4 separate regions of the Homo sapiens genome follow, and all the other regions are linked to region 3. Evidence: promoter capture Hi-C in 16 types of primary human blood cells and fetal thymus (Javierre and others, 2016). All regions are on one chromosome and are shown on one strand. Each heading gives the region's core, a stretch centred on a gene start or on the middle of the fragment in contact. The rest is flanking DNA. Distances are from core to core; before and after follow the strand shown. Region 1 holds the start of ATG12 (autophagy related 12). Region 2 holds the start of PGGT1B (protein geranylgeranyltransferase type I subunit beta). Region 3 holds the start of DCP2 (decapping mRNA 2). Region 4 holds the start of CCDC112 (coiled-coil domain containing 112).

Region 1 (2,700 bases), core at 1-2,500, 2.9 Mb after region 3:
GAGGCGGAGTTTCGCTCTTGTTGTCCAGGCTGGAGTGCAATGGCGAGACCTCCGCCCACTGCCACCTCCGCCTCGCGGGTTCAAGCGATTCTCCTGCCTCAGCCTCCCGAGTAGCTGGGATTACAGGCGCGCGCCACCACACCCATCTAACTTTTATATTTTTAGTAGAGATGGAGTCTTACCATGTTGGCCAGGCTGGTCTCGAACTCTTGACCTCAGGTGATCCACCCGCCTCAGCCTACCAAAGTGCTGGGATTACAGGAGTGAGCCACCGCGCCCGGCCAGAGACCACTGTCATCTTAAGACAGAACGGGGAAAACGTCTAAGGACGAAATCAGCCTCTCTGAATCGAGGATGCTTATATGCTGCTTTTCCCATAGGCAACTCTAACTCTAAACAGAGTGCTTTAGAACACGTAATTTTAGCAATCTCTTTTACAAAGGGAAACATTCTCAAGCAATAAAGGGTTGAGGATAGCTGACTCAAGCAATGAAATAACTCACAAAGGTTCCAAAATGTGTTTCTTAAAAAGGTAACATCTATGCCTTTAGCTTTCCCTTAGCAGTCTTCATTCTGCATAAGAATTTGGTTTTTGGTTTAAGGAGTGAATTCACAACCAACTGGGAGGGGGAAAAAAGCAAAAGCGAGTTAAGTTGGAAGGCATGAATTCTAATCCAGGCTTTGCCAATGACCACCCCTACCACCATAAAACATTACTCAAATAATTAGCTCCTGTGTTAAGTACCTGGAATTACCGAGACCCCCCTCCCCCCGCCCCACTCAGCTCCCTCCCTCCTTCAAAGAGCTCGCAGTCTGGCCAACTCAAAAAAATACAGTATAAAAATAAGTGTGGCAGCCAAGTATCAGGCCCTACACCGATAGACAGAGATGGTATTTTAACACTCAACTTAAAGGCCTTAAAAATCAAAAAGTACACTTCTTTTCTTCTGATGACTGGTCAAAATGCAGGTCTAGGACAGGCGCTCCTCTAAATTTTGCTTCTTTACTGGCCGCCACCCCTACTCGGATGCAATCTGAACCTCCCGCCTCTCTGCCCGGAAATAAATTCAGTTACTTTTTTTCTTGGTGTCGCCAGCAGGTTCCTCTGTTCCCGGGGAAACTGCAGCGGAAGACGGGGGCTCCGGGGTGGTTGTTTCTGGGGAGACATCCGTAAGTCCTTCCCCTCCAGCAGCAATTGAAGTAGGAAGCTGCAACACAGACTGCGGCTCCTCCGCCATCTTGCTTGGAGACACTCGAGAGCGGAAGTAGCGACTGAGCGCGTGCAGTGGGCGTGCTTTTCTCCAGGGAGCGTCGCAAAGGAGGCGCCGGAGTAGGGGGACGCAATTACACAGTGAAACTTGGTGTTCCCGGCTAGTCATTCAAATCGAAGCTGTCGCAGACCTCTGAACGTTAGTAACGCAACATGTGTTTCTCCGCGACTACAGACCTCGGGAGAGGAGCGGTGGGCAACGTGTCTGTGCTCGGTCGAATGCGCACACTCCAGTTAGGCCGCTGGCTCGGACCTAGAAATGTTTCCGCTTTCCTTAGTGCCTGCCCCGCCCAGGCCCCGCCCCTTGGGCCCCGCCCGACGGCTCGGGAGCGCGCGCGGTCGCGTGCGGGAGGGGGCGGGTGGGGAAGGATCGCAGGCGAGATTACGAGGCGAGGCTCGCGCGCCCGCCCCCGCCCTGGCCCCCAGTGCCCACCCGGTCGGCCCGGCACAGCCATGATCAAGGCGATCCTAATCTTCAACAACCACGGGAAGCCGCGGCTCTCCAAGTTCTACCAGCCCTACGTGAGTATCCAGCCGCCGCTGATCCGGGCGAGGGGGAGTCGTTGGCGACGGGCAGCGCCCAGCGCGGCTTTCTCAGAGCGACCCCCTCCGGCGCGCTGCGGCCCTTGTCCCGTCCCGGCCGCCTGGCGCTCGCCAGCTGTCAGCCTCCTGGTGGGTGTGGACAGGGTGCCCACCTCCCTGCCGCGCGGTCAGCCACCGACGTGGCTTTGCCCGGGCGGTTCCTCCGCCCGTCGGTGGGCTGCATGCTTTCCTGGCTGCGCGGGCGAGGCCCTGGAGACTTCCCGGGGCCCGGCCCTCGCCGATCGGGCAGCCGCAGCCCAGCCGCGCCGCGGAGCCCTGCGCCCAGTCCCCAAGAGCCCACCCCGCGCGGCTGCCTTCCTGCCGCCCGCGGCTGCAGTTAGCCCGGGAGGAGGAAGACGGCGTGGAACTCGTTCTTCTCGCCCCCCTCCGCCGACTCCCATCCTTTCCAGGTGGACTTCTTTCTGTTCTTTGGACAGATGGGCTACCGTTTTTCACTGTGGTCCTCTCATAGCACAGGAACTTTGGCTTCCTGCGTTTGATAACTGCACGTTCTGTACAGTCTCTCTTCTGCATGTTTCGATACGTGACAGACTGCCCAGTGTGACTTTCAGGTGTCTCCTTATTGAAAAGGAAGATATGTGAGGACCTAATATTTTTATCAGGCTTTTTACCAGCTGGCTGCAAATTATTTACCCTCGAAGTAACCGGCGACGTTTGTAGTTGACTGATTGGAGCTGTGGTTCTATACCTAAAAGTTATGATTTCAGCTTCTGGTTTGGCATTTTTCCACGTATGGGAATTTGCCCTCATTTATAGTTTTTTTCTATTTATGAAGAATAGTAGCATTTGTAGAACTTCTCTTTTAACGTGTAAATACTGTTTAGTAT
Region 2 (2,700 bases), core at 80-2,579, 2.3 Mb after region 3:
CAAATCAAAATAGCCAAATGTGGCTAGTGGCTACCAGATTGGACAGGGCAGCCCAGTCCTAAGTATAGAGGTAAACAAGATAGACGAAAATGTTACCTTTGTGAAGTTTATAATCCAGTGTAATAGAAAGACATTAAACAAATAAACCAATACATACGTAATGTGAGGTGGTCATTGGAAGTGGTCCCTTTAGGAAGGGTGTTTAAGGAAGGCCTCTCTAAAGATATCTGGATTATGTACATGCCTGTCTATATACTCCTATGAACACTACACTAACATATAGCACAGAACTCTATACAAATGCTTGTCTTGTTCAGCTGTACTCTGGCACCTACCATAATGTGGTTCTTGACCAAGTGTGCAGAAGTAATCTGCAAAGCTCCCCAAACTGATCCGGTCATGCAGTGTTCAAAATACACCAGCAACTCAGAATTTGGAAAACGTGGGGAAAGAACACAGCAAAAACAAGCCGCTCTTTCCTCCCATCCAGTCTCAAGCAGCTTTTGAGCTTCACTTCAAAACACAGCAATGCGGAGCAAAGATTGCCTTCTCCTTTCTTTCTTCTCATCCCCAGCTTTTACTGTAAATGAAGTCGCTTAGTCTCTGCCGCACCACACTCTTCAGCTATTGCGATACTTTTAACAGGCTGCTTCACGCAACACCACACCTCTTTCGCCTACCATTAGATTTATAGTTCCCACAAAGTTTCTAAGACCTTAGAGGTTCTCTGCCGCTCCTACACATAAAACACCATACAGACACTCTATTAAGAGTTAATGACTTTAGAGAGGACAAGGATGCACAGAAGTATTCATCTAAAAATACGACGACAAACTTTGTCCTTTTCCTTTTACACTCGGAAGTAATGAGGCAAAGTGACAGGCTATGGGAGCGGGTAAAAAAGCAGCTCAGAGTTGCCAGAAGAAAAGGGAAGTGAAAAAGCCGGAAACTGGAGATGCCACAGCCCTCGACCTACAGCCTTCCAGACCTTCCCACCGTACGGCGGGAGAGTGGGGGTAACCTCAAGCCCACTTGAAACCAGTCAGTGCCAACTGGGCGGCCGCGCAGCCCCCTTCCGGCGCCCAGTTTGCGGTCCGACTCCGCCGCGCCTTTCCGCTGGAGCCCGGGCCTTGTGCCAGCCTGGCTGACTGTGCCACGAGTTACCTGCTTGTCTCGAGTGAAGAATAGCGCTCCGGCAAAACCTGGAGGCAGCGCTGGAAAAATCGCACGTGCCGATCCCGTAAGAAATCCAGCCGCTCTCCCTCACCGCTCCCTGCTAGCCTCTCATCCTCAGTGGCCGCCATGCTGCTCCGGAAGCGACGTCCGCCGCGACCCGGAATCAGTGCCCGCGGAGAGAAAGAACCCTCCTGTGCTGAACCACAGGGTGCCGGGTGAGGGGACCTGCGCCCGCCGCAGACTAAGCCAGTATTTGAAACCGCTATCATCTGGGTCCTGTGCAGCACTTCCTCTCTCCGATATCTCCCTAGCTAGCGCATGACCCTACCTTTTCTACTCAAAGCCCTCGAGGCTTGTAAACACCTCGCAGGCCTTGTGAAAATCAAGTCCACAAATCCCTCCGTCAGAATTTTTATCTTGGGAAGCGCAAGGTCAAAAGCATCAAGTACGCTTTGAGACAATTCTGGCTCTGTAGAACCTGAGGATGGTATATCTGAAAACGAGGATGGATCAGTATAAACTTGCTAACAGATTCATTTTTGGAGGGCCAGTTTTAAGCCGAACGGTTAGGGAAACAGAAAAACAAACCAGTGGAGATAAATGTTTATTGACACTACAAAAGCTCAGAGACTTTCCTAATCTTAATCCTTTCTGGATACCAGGAATCACTTAAAAATCTGTGTATAATGCCCCCAAACATATACAACATGCATATTCATACCTATATATGACTGCTTGCGTCATTCTTTTACAAATCTTACAGATTTTACTTTGCTTGAGTCGACGTGTTATCAAGAATCAATGGTGCATCAATCTGCAACAGCAAAATAAGCTCAATATCTTCTCCAATTACCTGCATTCTAAAAAATTTAAACATGCTTCTAGTTCTTTTTTCCAAAAATAGGGATTTAAGTTGTTTAGCCGGTATACTATGCCCTTTAAACTTTCATGAGGCATTCCTGAGTAGCGGGTGGGGGGATCCACCCAATAATATAACTAAACTAGGTTCCCTGTGATCAACTTAGCTAATAAAATTTTGGGTTTAATTTTGTTAGCTTTCTTAGAAAATGTAATTCTTATACTCTATGGGCTGGGGTAATCTTACACTTATTCAACAATCCAAAGTGCTCTGAATAATTTTTGGTACTATTAACTACTTATTCACAGGTATTCCTGCATGTCTTTACAAAATGCCGCATTTAACAGCCACAGACGGATTCTAGGCTGTCCTCGGTACTTCCCTACAAATACGGAGCTCACAGTCCTTGCCCTTCAGGTGTGCCCAGTCTGGAGTTTCCACTGTTATTAAAATTAAGATCTCTCACTTAGCACACATACCCCCAAATGCCTGAAGATTTTTAAAGTGGAGTCTTATACACATTTAACTTACTGGAATCAGCTATGGACACTCTATACATTCTCAGAAAATTAATTCTAATAAACATGGCCCTTAAGTTAGGGAAGCCAAATGTTTCATCTGATTCTCAGCTCAAGGACTAGCAATCTGATCCAAATCTAGAGGAA
Region 3 (2,700 bases), core at 4-2,503:
AAGGATAAAATAAAATATACAAAGCAAGAATGTGACACCACAAGAAAGGGGCATTTGAAGAACAAAACAGAACTCTAAATAAGTAAAAACTCTGTAGTTGTCAGGAAGATAAATTTGAGGAATTCTCCAAGAAAGAGGGGAAAAAAAAGATGGAAAACGGGAGCAAAATAGATGGTGACGGGCCTCTTATGCCAAAGGAACTTGGGCTTGATCATACAGCAGAAACTGAAAAGATAACTTGTTCCTATCTGAGTAAAACAAAACAAAATGTAGGCAGTTGCACAGGCCAAGAATGGAGGCAGAGTCAGTGGTTAGGCAGCTCTCACTGTAGTATGGAGAAATGATGCAAAACTGAAGTACACAGTGGCATGTGACAAATTTAGACAAAAGATGGGAGATTAAATGGTAGAACAGACTAAACTTGTGACGGAGCAGGTGTGTGTGGGCCTGTGGGTCTGATGTAAGAGGAAAAAGAACAGATGGATCTAGTTTCTCCAAAGATCCCAAATGGATTGGTCTCCATTAAGCAAGACGAGGAATGAATAAGGACGAGCAGGTGGGGATTGCTTTGTGCAGAGGGTGGAATACAGATCAGAGTTCAGCTTAAATCAGTATTTTCTAAGATTTTGCTAGGTGCCAGATACTGAGATAAAGTCCTTGTCTTCATGTTTGGAACCAGGTGCCTAAGGAAGCACAGAGGAGAGCCACCTCCAAAATGGATACCCTCTCCAAGGGTTTGTAGTGAAAGAGGCACAGCTCTTGGCCTGGAGTTGGTGGGGGCTGCGATAAGTGCAAGATACTTGGTGACAGGAATCGCGAGCATACTCTTGTGTTGTACGGATTCTCAGGGTCGGCCCTGCAGAGGAAAGAGCTCAGTCACCGCGAGGTCCTGCACAACATGCCAAAGTCCCGGATATGTGTCCGGGGTCTACACCTAAGCCCCGACCCCTCTGAACTTCCCAGAAGCGCGCAGGAGGCATGGTGCGCATGCGTGTAGCCACCTCAAAGGCGGCGGGAAGTTGGTTTTCTGAGTAGCAACTGAGCAGCTTGAAGACGGATTGGAAGTAGCAGACCAATAAACAAACGTCTCATTGGCTTAGAGTGCTTAGAGTCCCAATTCTTCAGCTTCCCATTGGGCCTTTCAAGCGAGCAGGGGCGTGACTCCGGGGGCTCCGCCCCGAGCCTTGGCCCAGTCTTGGGGTCCAAGGCTGAGGGAGCGGGACGGAAGTGAGCGGGTCCCGCCCCTTCCCCTTCTCGTCTCCGTTGGAGTCGTCTCTGCCGCGGCTTCCTCGGCTGCCAGCTCTCCGGCGAGCCGGAGTCCTAGTGCCGTACCGTCAGTCCCCGGCCGCGCGGAGCCGGGATGCACTGTTCCTGCTGTGGGTCCTCATCATGGAGACCAAACGGGTGGAGATTCCCGGCAGCGTCCTGGACGATCTCTGCAGGTACCGCGCTACCCGACCCCCTTTCGCCCCCGTCGGGTTTTCTCAGTTTCGCGGACCCCCAGAGGCCTCTGGGTCTTCTTCCCCGCCCACGTCCATGTCCTCGCTTTCCGCTCCCGCCGCTGCTCGCTTTCCATCGTCGACCCTGCTCTCCGACGACACCGCCCCTCTTTCCGCCGCAGCCTCCCTGTTTCTCAAGGCCCTCCGTCCTTCCCCGCAGAACACCCGGAATTTCCTCATTTTTTAAGTTACTCAACTATTTTGCTTTCCCGCAGGCGTAGCCGCTTCGCCGGAGCCTGGGTCTTAGCGTTTTGCCGCCGCCGCCGCCTCCCTCTCCCATTGTTTTTTCTGCCTCTGTGACTTTTCCACGCCGTGCACCCCCTCCTCCCTGTGTCTCATTCCCCGATTCTGAAGGAAGACCCCCAGGGTAGTAATTTAAGGCTTAGGATCCCAGGTACGCGGACCTGCGCAAGGAGCAAATTTTCGGACTTATTCTGACGCCTGCGTGTTATTTGTCCGTGGCGTTCTCTGTAAATTCCTGTAAGGAATTACTTTTTTTTTCTCATCCCTGGACTTGTCTTTGGGGGAGAGAGGGAAAAAGTGTAGCGCTGCTTTTCTTTTTATCCTTAATAATCCTATTTTAAAGGAAATTCTCAACCGCGGGGTTTTAACTCAGGGTGTATACTTCAGATGAGAAATTTTCTGCATTCTTCCCCCTTGTCAACTCTGATTTCAGATAGCCAAACACGTGTAGGATACTTAAAAATGCTTATTTTCCGAAGGTAAAATTTGGAGTGCAGTGATACCCGGAGTTGTCGCCAAGTGTGTGTGGATTGTGATTACAAGTGATAACACCTTTTCGTTCACAGTTACTGTGTTTATGTTTTAAAAGGCAGGCTTTTAGTAGTTGTATCTCCTTCATGCAGTTTTTTTTAATGGAAAGTAAAGAACTGGTGTTTGTGGAGTTTTTTGGGGTTTTTTTTGTTTGTTTGTTTTTTTGTTTTTATTTTTTGAGACGGAGCCTCTTTCTTTTGCCCAGGCTGGTGTGCAGTGGTGCGGTCTTGGCTCACTGCAACCTCTGCCTTCCGGATTCAAACGAGTCTCTGCCTCAGCCTCCCTAGCAGCTGGGATTACAGGCACCCGCCACCACACCCGGCTAATTTTTGTATTTTTAGTAGAGACGGGATTTCACCATCTTGGCCGTGCTGGTCTCGAACTTCTGACCTCGTGATCCACCCGCCTCGGCCTCCCAAAGTGCTGG
Region 4 (2,700 bases), core at 120-2,619, 2.3 Mb after region 3:
TGCTACAAGAATTTAGAGAAATGATGGAGAAAGCCAGCAACATGGTGTCACACATTTTTTTGAGCATAGTACTTAAAAATACTTTACGTATTATGTATATTTATATATTTTACATTTTTTCCTGAGATACTTGGGACAGAGTTAGAATAATAAAGAGAATTATAGAGGATGTGTGAGAAAATTTGCCGTAGGTGGAATTTCCTGAAGGTCTACGAGTAAAGACACTGTATTTCCTTAAAGGAGGAAAAAGATGGAACCTCTCCTCAGCTCATGACAGCCTTCCTTCAGGTTTATATTGATCCACAAATTATTTAGTAAGTGCATACTACGTTCCAGGCACTACACAACAGGCATAGTTCTTGGTGCTGGGAATACAATAAAGAATAAAATTTCCAATACTTTCTGCCCTCATGGAGCTTACATTCTCATGGGGGTGCGAGGGAGGGTGAGGGGTGTGAGGAGAAACATAAACAATAGAAATAAAGTATGTAATATAATATATGGTACTAAGTGCTATGGGGAAAAATAAAACCAGAAACAGGGACTGGGTGTGCCGCGTAAGGCGATTCATTTTAGGGAGATCATGGAAAGTCTCGCTGAGCTGATAACATCTGAACAAAGATACCTTGTCCTCACCACCTAGAAAGCGGTCCTAAGCCGATCACTGGAAACACCTCTGCCTCCGACCATCCCATATTGTCTTTCTCCTTGTGTTCCCAGCGCCGGTACAGTAACAGAGCTGCCACCAATTACTGAGCACAGAGTCCCCCTCCAATCAAGCACTGTGCCAGGGGCTCCCCAGACATAACGTTAGTCCAAAGCTCGGGAGGTGCATGTTACTATTCCCAATTTTTAGAGAAGAAAGTGAGTCGCCGACAGCATATGTTCTTATCACGCGGCTAGGAAGCGGCAGAGCCGGGTTCCCACCCAGGTCTTCCTCGACTCCGAAACCACATGGAGGCGGCTCTGCAAAAGCTGTTAAACGCACAAGCCAACAAAGAGCAACGCCCAGCGCGTGCCAGGCCCCGAGCAGGGGAGGCGAACGCCGCGCCTCCCGCCGGCGCTGCAGAGGGCACCTGTTCAGCCAGGGCCTGCAGCCCCTCGCCTGCCGCCAGAGCAGCTCTCGGTTCTCCCGGATTTACCTGTTGAGGCGCTGGCGTCGCTCCCACGCCGGTCCCGGTGGCCGCGCCCGCCCCTGCCACAGCCCCGGCTACCGCGGTGGCCGCAGCCGCTACCACAACCGTCGTCAGTGCGGCCATGTTTACCCGCCGAGCTACTCGGGCCGCGGCGGCCACCGGTGCCTGGGGATTCGTGGCAGGCGCACCCTGGCCTCTGCAGACAGCTCCCTGCGCTGCGGGCTTGGCCGGGATGCAGGGCGGGGCCGAGATGTAGGGCGGGGTCGGGATGCAGGGCGGGGCTGAGATGCGGGGGTGCAGGGGTGCGGGGGTGCGGGAGGGGCGGGACTGGGGTGCAGGGCGGGGCCGAAATGCGAGGCGGGGGCCGGGATTCAGGCGGGGAGGGGCGGGGCGAGGGAGGGGCAAGGTGCCGGGCGGAGCCGGGATGCAGGGGAGGGGCGGGTCTGGGGTTCTGGGGCGGGCGGGTGTGGGGGCGGGGCGGGGCGGGGCGGGGGCTGCGCTCTGCCCTGTCGCGGGTTTATATACCCTTTGGGCACTTAACCGACTGTGCCAGCCCAGTCCCATACCTGTCAAGAAAATTCATTGTCTTACATCGTCCTTAAATTTTATTCGTGTTATAGTCAATATATACATATTTTTACCTAATATACATCCGCTTTCTAGGTTTCTACTTAGCGCTGCTGAGACTGAGTCTAAATGAAAAAACATTATCAATGGATTCTAACAATAAATCATATTTTAGATTTTTAAAGAAAAAAACCCAGCTTGCTCCACAGAACCAGATATCAGAGGCAGGAATGCCACAGTTACATTCCTAGGACTTGGTCAATGAGAAGACAGATTCCAAAAATACAGTGCTGGGAAGTTGGAAAAAAGCCACAGATGACGCTTCCAGTCAAGACAACCTGTGGCAACTGAGCTGATTTCTGTAGGTACTACCTTTTCCCCCTTTATAGAAATCGATTCATTCAGTCAGTCAATATGGAGCTCCTAGCATATGTCAGGCACTGTTCTAGGCCTTGGGAATTCATTGTTGAATTAGACACATAGGTAAGGTTCCTTCACCTTTAACAAGTAAACAAATAGGTATTTATTGAGCAATTCCTTTATGCCAGGGCTGTTATAAGTGCTTTATATGCACTTTTGCATTTAATCTTCACAAATAACTTCATGAAGTAGGTACTATTATCATCTCCATTTCAGTGATAAAGTTAAGGATCACATGGCCACACAGGTAGAGGGTAGGATACCTATCTAGACAGCCTGACTCCAGAGACCATCCTGGTAGAGGTATTAAACAGGCAGCGGGATAAACGCCTCTGGAGCCCAGGAGAGAGAGAGCTAAAGATACGAATTTGATCTTCCTATAGAAAATATTTGAAATAAGACTGAATGAGCTCACCCAGGGTGAGTATAAATTGAAGTCTGAGAACTAAGCCTAGGCCACTCCGAGAAGGTGACCACGGACAAGAGGAGAAGGGGACCAATATGGAGAGATCTGTGAGAAGGGAGGAAAACCGGAAGTCTGTGGAGGGAAGTTTTTGCAGAAGAGGCCGGACGTGGT

What was found. Contacts are between HindIII fragments. The CHiCAGO score rates a contact against its expected background, and 5 or more counts as called.
Region 1: a contact is called between the fragment with the promoter of ATG12 here and the fragment with the promoter of DCP2 in region 3, in 3 of 17 cell types (neutrophils, total B cells and total CD4 T cells). The highest score is 10.5, in neutrophils.
Region 2: a contact is called between the fragment with the promoter of PGGT1B here and the fragment with the promoter of DCP2 in region 3, in 5 of 17 cell types (total CD4 T cells, total B cells, activated CD4 T cells and 2 more). The highest score is 8.1, in total CD4 T cells.
Region 4: the fragment with the promoter of CCDC112 here is called in contact with the fragment with the promoter of DCP2 in region 3 in 2 of 17 cell types (fetal thymus and M0 macrophages); the score reaches 9.3 in fetal thymus.

Annotation. Positions count from the first base shown.
Region 1 is chr5:115,840,315-115,843,014 of GRCh38, forward strand. ATG12 (autophagy related 12) reads right to left here and starts at 1,251. Exons shown (of 4, transcript NM_004707.4): 1 at 1,076-1,251. The coding sequence starts at 1,238. It overlaps AP3S1 (adaptor related protein complex 3 subunit sigma 1), which reads left to right and starts at 1,621. Exons shown (of 6, transcript NM_001284.4): 1 at 1,621-1,792. The coding sequence starts at 1,724. RefSeq lists enhancers at 114-614, 618-1,519, 908-1,207, 1,218-1,267, 2,258-2,467 and silencers at 1,498-1,877, 1,978-2,167. The HindIII fragment of the contact is 16,491 bases long and covers 1-2,700 here.
Region 2 is chr5:115,261,548-115,264,247 of GRCh38, forward strand. PGGT1B (protein geranylgeranyltransferase type I subunit beta) reads right to left here and starts at 1,330. Exons shown (of 9, transcript NM_005023.4): 1 at 1,165-1,330. The coding sequence starts at 1,304. RefSeq lists enhancers at 1,189-1,368, 1,399-1,448. The HindIII fragment of the contact is 10,345 bases long and covers 1-2,700 here.
Region 3 is chr5:112,975,545-112,978,244 of GRCh38, forward strand. It overlaps DCP2 (decapping mRNA 2), which reads left to right and starts at 1,254. Exons shown (of 11, transcript NM_152624.6): 1 at 1,254-1,442. The coding sequence starts at 1,390. RefSeq lists enhancers at 745-794, 825-904, 920-1,679, 1,215-1,264, 1,335-1,424 and 2 more. The HindIII fragment of the contact is 6,686 bases long and covers 1-2,700 here.
Region 4 is chr5:115,295,285-115,297,984 of GRCh38, forward strand. It overlaps CCDC112 (coiled-coil domain containing 112), which reads right to left and starts at 1,370. Exons shown (of 10, transcript NM_001040440.3): 1 at 1,143-1,370. The coding sequence starts at 1,259. LOC105379129 (a long non-coding RNA gene) reads left to right here and starts at 1,644. Exons shown (of 5, transcript XR_948684.3): 1 at 1,644-2,064. RefSeq lists a silencer at 1,019-1,468. The HindIII fragment of the contact is 8,729 bases long and covers 1-2,700 here.